2 separate regions of the Homo sapiens genome follow, and region 1 is linked to region 2. Evidence: promoter capture Hi-C in 16 types of primary human blood cells and fetal thymus (Javierre and others, 2016). All regions are on one chromosome and are shown on one strand. Each heading gives the region's core, a stretch centred on a gene start or on the middle of the fragment in contact. The rest is flanking DNA. Distances are from core to core; before and after follow the strand shown. Region 1 overlaps NFATC3 (nuclear factor of activated T cells 3). Region 2 holds the start of KCTD19 (potassium channel tetramerization domain containing 19).

The links. Contacts are between HindIII fragments. The CHiCAGO score rates a contact against its expected background, and 5 or more counts as called.
Region 1: a fragment that was not itself captured here is called in contact with the fragment with the promoter of KCTD19 in region 2 in 1 of 17 cell types (neutrophils); the score reaches 5.0 in neutrophils.

The regions. Positions count from the first base shown.
Region 1 is chr16:68,207,690-68,212,259 of GRCh38, forward strand. The region is part of intron 9 of NFATC3 (nuclear factor of activated T cells 3); the gene reads left to right. It also overlaps the pseudogene RPS12P27. Among named protein-coding and RNA genes, the nearest start is that of MIR6773, 24 kb to the right of the region's middle. RefSeq lists an enhancer at 3,455-3,524. The HindIII fragment of the contact is 3,143 bases long and covers 1,396-4,538 here.
Region 2 is chr16:67,325,463-67,329,956 of GRCh38, forward strand. It overlaps KCTD19 (potassium channel tetramerization domain containing 19), which reads right to left and starts at 1,279. Exons shown (of 16, transcript NM_001100915.3): 1 at 1,243-1,279. The coding sequence starts at 1,245. LRRC36 (leucine rich repeat containing 36) reads left to right here and starts at 1,353. Exons shown (of 14, transcript NM_018296.6): 1 at 1,353-1,470. The coding sequence starts at 1,401. RefSeq lists a silencer at 1,246-1,395. The HindIII fragment of the contact is 1,968 bases long and covers 284-2,251 here.

The sequences.
Region 1 (4,570 bases), core at 1,717-4,216, 880 kb after region 2:
GACCTCAGGTCACCCACCCTCCTCAGCCTCCCAAAGTGCTGGGATTGCAGGCGTGAGCCACCAAGCCCAGCCTCCATGTTCAACTTTTTGAGGAACCACTATTTTTTTTAATCCTACAGCAGCCACACCATTTTACATTTACAATGTATAAGGCTTTCAGTTTCTTTATACCCTTGCCAACACATGTTATTTTCCATTTTTAAAATAATAGCCATCCTACTGGGTATTAAGTTATATTCATTATAATTTTGATTTGCATTTCCCTATTGACTAATGGTGTTGAGCATCTTTTCATGTGCCTGTTGTCCATTTGTATATTTTCTTGTCTATCCAAATCCTTTATTTTATTTATTTATTTATTTTTGAGACGGAATCTGGCTGTGTCACCCAAGCTGGAGTGTAGTGGCATGACCTTGGCTCACTGCAGCCTCCACCTCCCAAGTTCAAGCGATTCTCCTGCCTCAGCCTCCTGAGTAGCTGGGTTTACAGGCTCACACCACCACGCCTGGCTAATTTTTTGTATTTTTATTAGAGATGGGGTTTCTCCATATTAGTCAGGCTGGTCTCAAACTCCTGACCTCAGGTGAGCCACCCGCCTTAGCCTCCCAAAGTGCAGGGTTATAGGCATGAGCCACCATGCCCGGTCTAGTTTTCAATGTAGAAATCTTATGCCTCTTTGGTTAATTCCTAAGTATTTTATTCTTTTTGATGCCACTGTAAATAGAATTGTTTTTCTTAAGATTGGGCACAGCGGCTCACACTTGTAATCCCAGCACTTTGGGAGGCTGAGGCAGGCTGATCACCTGAGTTCAGGAGTTCAAGACCAACCTGGCTAACGTGGGCCCACCTGGCCAACATGGGGAAACTCTGTCTCTACTAAAAATACAAAAATTAGCTGGGTGTGGTGGCATATGCCTGTAATCCCAGCTATTTGTGGGACTGAGGCAGGAGAATCGCTTGAACCTGGGAGACAGAAGTTGGAGTGAACCAAGATTATGCCACTGCACTCCAGCCTGAGACTCCGTCTCAAAAACAAACCAAAAAAAAAAACCCCAAAACAAGAATTGTTTTCTTAATTTTTTTTGGACCTTTCATTCCAAGTATATAGAAGTACAACTGAATATTGTGTGTTGATTCTATATTCTGCCACTTTGGTGACTTTATTTGTTAGTGCTAACATTTTTTTGTCTGTGTGGATTCTTTAGAGTTTTATGTTTATACTATCATGCCATTCGTGAATAGAGATAATTTTCTCTCTTCCTTTTTAATTTGGATGGGCTTTATGTATTTATTTATTTTTCTAACCTAATTGCTCTGGCTAGAACTTCTAGTGGTAGGCTAGTAGAAGTGGTGAAAGAGTGGGCATCTTTGCTTTGTTTGTGATCTTAGGGGGAAAGCTTTTGTTCTTTGTTGATAATGATAGGAACTAACAGTTTTTCATATATGGCCTTTTTCATATTGAGGAAATTCCTTCTATTCTTTGTTTATTGAATGTTTTCATCTTGAAAGAGCATTGAATTTTGATAAATGAGTTGGGCACGGTGGCTCACGCCTGTGATACCAGCACTTTGGGAGGCTGAGGCGGGCAGATAGCTAGAACCCAGGAGGTGGAGGCTGCAGTGAGCCGTGATTGGGATGCTACTGCACTCCAGCCTGGGCAACAGAGTGAGACCGTCTCAAAGAAAAAGAGTTCTTTCCCTGCCACTGCTGAGTTGAGTGGAGGCAGAGGCTTGGGTGCATTCAAGATTCAGCTTCACCCGTAGACCACCACCATGGCCACGGAAGGTGTTGCTGCTGGAGGTGTGGTGGCTGTTAATACTGCTTTACAAGAGGTGTTGAAGACTGTCCTCACCCATGATGGCCTAGCACGTGGAATTTGCAAAGCTGCTGAAGGGTCAGGCCCATCTTTTGTGTGTTTGCATCCAACTGTGATGAGCCTATGTCAAGTTCATAGAGGTTCTTTGTGCTGAACACCAAATCAACCTACTTAAGGTTGATGACAAGAAGCTAGGGGGAATGGTTAGGTCTCTGTAAAATTGACAGAGAGGGGAAACCCCGTAAAGTGGTTCGTTGCAGTTGTGTAGTAGTTGAAGTACTTCAAATGCAAGAAATGAACGAATAAAACTCTGGCTAACCCCCCTGCCCCCCAACACACACACAGACACACACACACACACACTCACAGTCACACTCACTCTGGGCATGTTGGCTCAATCCTGTAGTCCTAGCACTTTGGGAGGCCGAGGTGGGCAGATTGCTCGAGCCCAAGAGTTCAAGACCAGCCTGGGCAACATGAAATCCCATCTCTGCTAAAAATACAAAAAATGGCCAGGTGCAGTGGCTCGCGCCTGTAATCCCAGCACTTTGGGAGGCCGAGGTGGGCGGATCACGAGGTCGGGACATTGAGACCATCCTGGCTAACACAGTGAAACTCCATCTCTACTGAAAATACAAAAAAATTAGCTGGGCATGGTGGCGGGCACCTGTAGTCCCAGCTACTCGGGAGGCTGAGGCAGGAGAATGGCGTGAACCCGGAAGGCGGAGCTTGCAGTGAGCCAAGATCATGCCACTGCGCTCCAGCCTGGGCGACAGAGTGAGATTCCTTCTCAAAAAAAAAAAAAGAAAAAAAAAAAGAATACAAAAAATTAGCCAGGTGCTGTGGTCCCAAATACTTGGGAAGCTGAAGTGGGAGGATTGCTTGAGCCTGGGAGGTAGAGGCTGCAGTGAGCCATTATTGTGCCACTGCACACCAGCCTTGGTGACAGAGTGACACCTTGTCTCAAAAAAAATAAAAGAATTTTTACAAACACTTTTCTGCATCTATCGAGATGATCATGTGGTTTTTAAATTAATTTTTGTAGAGGTAGGGTCTTGCCATGTTGCCCATGCCAGTCAGGAGTATGTTTTTTTTTCTTTTGTTCAACTAATTTGGCATATTACTTTAATTGATTTTCATTTGTTGAATCATCCTTGCATTCTGGGAATAAAACTCACTTGGTCTTAATGTATCATCCTTTTAATATGCTGCTGAATTGTGTTAGTGTTTTGTTGATTTTTGCATCTATATTCATAAAGAATATTCTGTAGTTTTTTTGTTTTTTTGTTTGTTTGAGATGGAGTCTTGCTCTGTCGCTCAGGCAGGAATGCAGTGGTGTGACCTCGGCTCACTGCAACCTCTGCCTCCCCAGTTCAAGCGATTCTTCTGCTTCAGCCTCCCGAGTAGCTGGGACTACAAGTGCGCACCACCATGCCCGGCTAATTTTTTTGTATTTTTAGTAGAGATGGGGTTTCACCATATTGGCCAGGCTGGTCTCGAACTCCTGACCTCGTGATCCACCCACCTTAGCCTCCCAGGTGTAAGCCACTGTGCCTAGCCTTTTCTTTTCTTATAGTATCTTTTTCTGGCTTTGTGTCAGAGTAAATTCTGGCCTCATAATGAGTTAGGAAGTGTTTCCTTTTCTTTAATCTTTTTAAGAGTTTCAAAAGAATCGAAACTCTTTTTTCTTTGTTTTGTTTTGAGATGGAGTCTCGCTCTGTCGCCAGGCTGGAGTGCAGTGGCGCGATCTCAGCTCACTGCAACCTCCACCTCCCGGGTTCACGCCATTCTCCTGCCTCAGCCTCTCGAGTAGCTGGGATTACAGGCACTCACCACTATGCCCAGCTAATTTTTGTATTTTTAGTAGAGACGGGGTTTCACCATGTTGGCCAGGATGGTTTCTATCTCCTGACCTTGTGATCCTCCCGCCTCGGCCTCCCAAAGTGCTGGGATTACAGGCGTGAGCCACTGTGCCCGGCTGAAACTCTTCTTCTGTAAATGTTTTTTGTTGTTGTTGTTGTTGTTGTTGTTGTTTGAGTCGGAGTCTCACCCTGTTGCCCAGTCTGGAGTGCAATGGCATGATCTCAGCTCACTGCAACTTCCGCCTCCCAGGTTCAAGCAATTCTCCTGCCTCAGCTTCCTGAGTAGCTGGGATTACAGGCATCTACCACACGCCCAGCTAATTTTTGTGTTTTTAGTAGAGACGGGGTTTCACCATGCTGGCCAGGCTGGTCTCGAACTCCTGACCTCAGGTGATCTACCCGCCTTGGCCTCCCAAAGTGCTGGGATTACAGGCATGAGGCACCGTGCCCGGCACACTTTTGTAAATGTTTGGTCAAAGTTCTTGTGATCAGGAGAGATGAATGAGGTATATTTTGGAGCTCACGAAAGTGCTTCAAGGAACTAGAAGGATTTCTGGAGCACTGCAAGTTTCTGTAAAGCACAATCTGAAAGTACCACTGAATTCATCCACTCACAAAAGCTCCCATAGTGTGTGTTGGCCTCTTGCTTTGTTCCTGGGATGCTTTCTTATGATTTTTATGCTGCTGTACCTGTAATCACATGTTCTATACCTTCAAGTCTGTTTTGGAGGATTCAGTTGTGGAGATTGGGAACCCCCAGAAAGAGTATTTTGATATTTTCAGTATTTAAAATACTTTGCACACACTGTAATCTTTAAATCACCTCTGAAAACTAGGTGAGTGATCTCAAATAATAAACAAGCTTAAGTCAGAAAAATTTTGCTTAACCAAA
Region 2 (4,494 bases), core at 29-2,528:
CGATCTCCTGACCTCGTGATCCACATGCTTCGGCCTCCCAAAGTGCTGGGATTACAGACGTGAGCCACCACGCCCAGCCCACCCTCTTTTCTTGTTAAGGATAGGGTGTGACAAGAGGGTCCTGGCTCCTTCTTACATACATGTCCCATCCACAGGTGGGCTCTTAAGTGCCTGCTGGAGTGAGGGTAGGGGTTAGGGATGCGGCTGTTCTTTCCCAAAGACTACTCAGGGGCTGGTTAGTGCAGAGCTATCGCAGCCTGGCGACAGCCCTCAGTCACAGGCAAGCTTAGGGGAACCTGTGGTGCTTGAAAGACAAAAGGCTTCTTGCCGGACTGACTTCAGGAAACGGGGTAGCCCTAAAGCAGTCATCCCCACCCCATTACAAAGAGCTTCTCTCTTTCCCACGCTGATCCTTCTCCCCCGAAGAAGCTCCGTCCAAGTAAATTTCTTACCTTTTTTTTTTTTTTTTTTTTGAGACAAGGTCTGGCTCTGTCACTCAGGTCGCCCAGGCTGGAGTGCAGTGGTGCAATCTCGGTTCACTGCAACCTCCACCTCCCGGGTTCAAGCGATTCTCCTGCCTCAGCCTCCCGAGTAGCTGGGACTACAGGCCGTGCCACCACACCCGGCTAATTTTTGTATTTTTAGTAGAGATGGGGTTTCACCATGTTGGCCAGGCTGGTCTTGAACTCTTGACCTCAGGTGATCCGCCCACCTCGGGCTCCCAAAGTGCTGGGATTACAGGCGTGAGACACCGCGCCCAGCCCGTCCAAGTCAATTTCTAGAGCTAGAACTTCCTCATGCTCTAAAGACAGGACCCCAACTCCTCAGAGCCAGGATTCCCAACCTTTCAGATCTGGAGCTCCCCATCATGCCTTAGAGTTCTGTCCCCACGCTCCAATCCTTCAGATTTGGATCTCCCCTTCACACACACCCTCGCCTTGCCCCAAAGTCAGCATCCCCCAGCGCTGAGATATGAAGACCACCCCGTCAAAGGGGCACACGCCCAGCCCTCAGAACCGGAGTCCCCCACATCCTCAGAGCCAGAACACTTCATCCCTCAAGACAGAGCGTTATTCTAACTCCTCAGAGCCAGCCCCCCAAATCCTTCCCGGCTGGGGGCCCCTCGCTCTCTCCCATGCCCCAGAGCCAGGTCTCGAACCACTTAGCCCCAATCCTTGGCCACAGCGGCCCCCATTCGCCGCTTTGGTGCTTTTGGCGCCCCCGCCAGAGCGGGCTCCGTACCATGGTCGCGGCTCCAGCAGCGGGCGGGCGGGCTTGTGACCCGGCCAATAACGGTTCCCGGGGTCGCGGCGGCGCGCGCGCGGGGGGCGGGGCAGTGGGCGGGGCCTGGCGTGCGCCGGGTGGTCTCGCGGGCGGTGGCAGGTGAGCGGCGGGCGGGGATGGCGGAGCAATGGGAGCTGGACGAGGAAGGCATTCGCCGCCTGGGGGCGCTGACGCTGGAGCAGCCGGGTAGGGTCTGGCCGGGAGGGTGTGGACTGGGAACGTAGGGTCAGAAGCTGTGGAAAGAAAACTGAAGTGGAAGGCGGGGAACCTGAGATAGAGGCGAGGGAACCACAGAGAAGCGGTACCTGAGGCTGGGGGGCGGGGGGATAACTTGAGGCAGAAGGTTAGAGGGAGGTGGAGGTGGAGGAACTGAAGTAACGGGAGGGTGTGGGGCAGAGCCCGAGGAATTGAGAGAGAAGAGGGGAGTGTGAAGTAGGGAAGGAGAAACAAGGTTAACAGGGGACCCTGCCGCAGGTGACAGAACTGCGGGGGGCGGTGGCTGACCGCTGTAATCCCAGCACTTTGGGAGGCGGAGGCGGGTGGATCACCTGAGCGTGGCCAACATGGTGAAACCCCGTCTCTACTAAAATACAAAAATTAGCCCGGCGTGGTGGTTCAAGTCTATAATCCCAGCTACTCGGGAGGCTGAGGCAGGAGAATCGCTTGAACCCGGGAGGCGGAGGTTGCAGTTAGCCGAGATCGCACCACTGCACTGCAGCCTGGGCGACAGAGCGAGACTCCATCTCAAAAATAATAATAATAAATAAAATAAATAAATAATAAAATGTCTATTAGACATCCAAGTGTAAGGTACCTAGTAGGCAGTTGGATATATGGGTCTGGACCTCAGAGGAGAGGTCAGGGTTAGAGATGAAAATTTTGGAGACATTAGCAATAGGTGGTATTTAAAGCTACGGGAGTGGATGAACTCAGCTAAGGAGAGAATGTCGATGGAGAAGTGAAAGAAAGCTTAAGACTCAACCTTGGAATATTTCAGTGTTTAGAGGTTGTATAGAGGAAGAATGTGGTATCTTGGAATTTGAGAAGGGGTAGTGTATCGAGCAAGCAATGGCCAACTGTGCCAAATGCTATTGACAGGCTGAGCAACTTAAATGCAGAGTGTCTGTTAGATTTAGCAACATGGAACTTACTGGTGACCTTGACAGAGGGAGTTTTGGGAGGGTGGGGAGGAGGGAAACCAGATTGGAGTGGGATGAAAAAGGGAAATGATATTTGAGGGGAAGAGACAGTGAAAGTAAGAACTTTTGCTGAAAATTTTAGCTGTAAAAGAGACTGCAGAAATAGATGGTAGCTGAAGCGTATGATGTGCAGTCAAGAACAGAACAGGAAGGATATACTAGAGCATGTCGGTAGTCTAATGATTAATTTGGTAGAGGGGGGAAATATGTAATATTTACTCATTTTGACTGTTAAAATAATTCAATTAATTTATTCTGTGGGTAATATAATAATTGTACAGTGAGGGCCAGGCGCGGTGGCTCACGACTGTAATCCCAGCACTCTGGGAGGCCGAGGCGGGCGGATCACGAGTCAGGAGATCGAGACCATCCTGGCTAACACAGTGAAACCCCGTCTCTACTAAAAATACAAAAAAAATTAGCGGAGCATGGTGGCGGGCGCCTGTAGTCCCAGCTACTCGGGAGGCTGAGGCAGGAGAATGGCGTGAACCCAGGAGGCGGAGCTTGCAGTGAGCCGAGATCGCGCCACTGCACTCCAGCCTGGGTGACAGAGTGAGACTCCGTCTCGAAAAAATAAATAAATAAAATAAAAATTGTACAGTGAGAAGAAAGTCTTTACTCCCCCATCCCCGTCTCATAGGCCTAGTTCCCCTTCCTAAAGGCAATTACTGTTACCAGTATCTTGGATAGTTTTCCAGAAATATTCTCTACATATATAAGCATTTATCACTTATTTTATAATTTTATATTATGGCAATTTTCAAATATATACAAGAGTAGAGATAACAGAATAATGAACTCTATTAGCCTACCTCAACAGTTATCATCAATTCATGGCCAAGCTTCTTTCACGTATACCTCACCTATCCTCCACCCACCTCCAACCCCCTACACTGACTATTTTGAAGCAAATTCCAAGTATGTGATTTCCTCCATAAATATTTCAGTAGTATTTTATTTATTTATTGTTTTTATTATTTTTCAGATAGAGTTTTGCTCTGTCACCCAGGCTCTAGGGCAGTGGCGTGATCTCGGCTCACTGTAATCTCCACCTCCGCATTTCAAGCGATTCTTCTGCCTCAGCCTCCCAAGTAGCTGGGACTACAGGCACCCGCCACCACGCCCGGCTAATTTTGTATTTTCAGTAGTGACAGGGTTTTGCCATGTTGGCCAAGCTGGTCTTGAACTCCTGACCTCAAGTGATCCACCCACCTCAGCCTCCCTAAGAGTTGGGATTATAAGTGCAAGCCACAGCACCTGGCCAGTATGTATTTTTAAAAGCTAAGATTACTTTAAAAAAAAGTCACATATGCAACCTAAAAAATTTAACAGTAATTTCTTTTTTTGGTTTTGTTTTGTTTTTGAGATGGAGTCTGGCTCTGTTGCCCAGGCTGGAGTGCAGTGGCATGATCTCAGCTCACTGCAACCTCTGCCTCCAGGGTTCAAGCAATTCTCCTGCCTCAGCTTCCTGAGTAGCTGGGATTTCAGGCATGTGCCACCATGCCTGGCTAATTTTTTTGTATTTTTAGTAGAGACGGGGTTTCACCATGCTAGCCAGGCTAGTCTTGAACTCCTGACCTCAAGTGACTCAGCCTCCTAAAGTGAACAGTGATTTCTTGATATCATGAAATATCTAACTAGTGTTCTTATTTCCCCAGTTGTCCTATAATTTTTTAAAATTAGAATCCATGGCCGGGTGCGTTGGCTCATGCCTGTAATCCCAGCACTTTGGGAGGCCAAGGTGGGTGGATCACTTGAGGCCAGGAGTTCAAGACCAGCCAGGCCAACATGGTGAAACCCCATCTCTATTAAAAATACAAAAATTAGCTGGACATGGTGGCTCACACCTGTAATCCCAACTACTTGGGAGGCTGAGGCAGGAGAATCGCTTGAACCCGGGAGACGGAGGTTGTAGTGAGCTGAGATCGCGTCACTGCACTCCAGCTTGGGTGGCAGAGCAAGTCTCCATCTAAAAAATAAAATAAAATAAGAATCCGTATATGGTCCATAT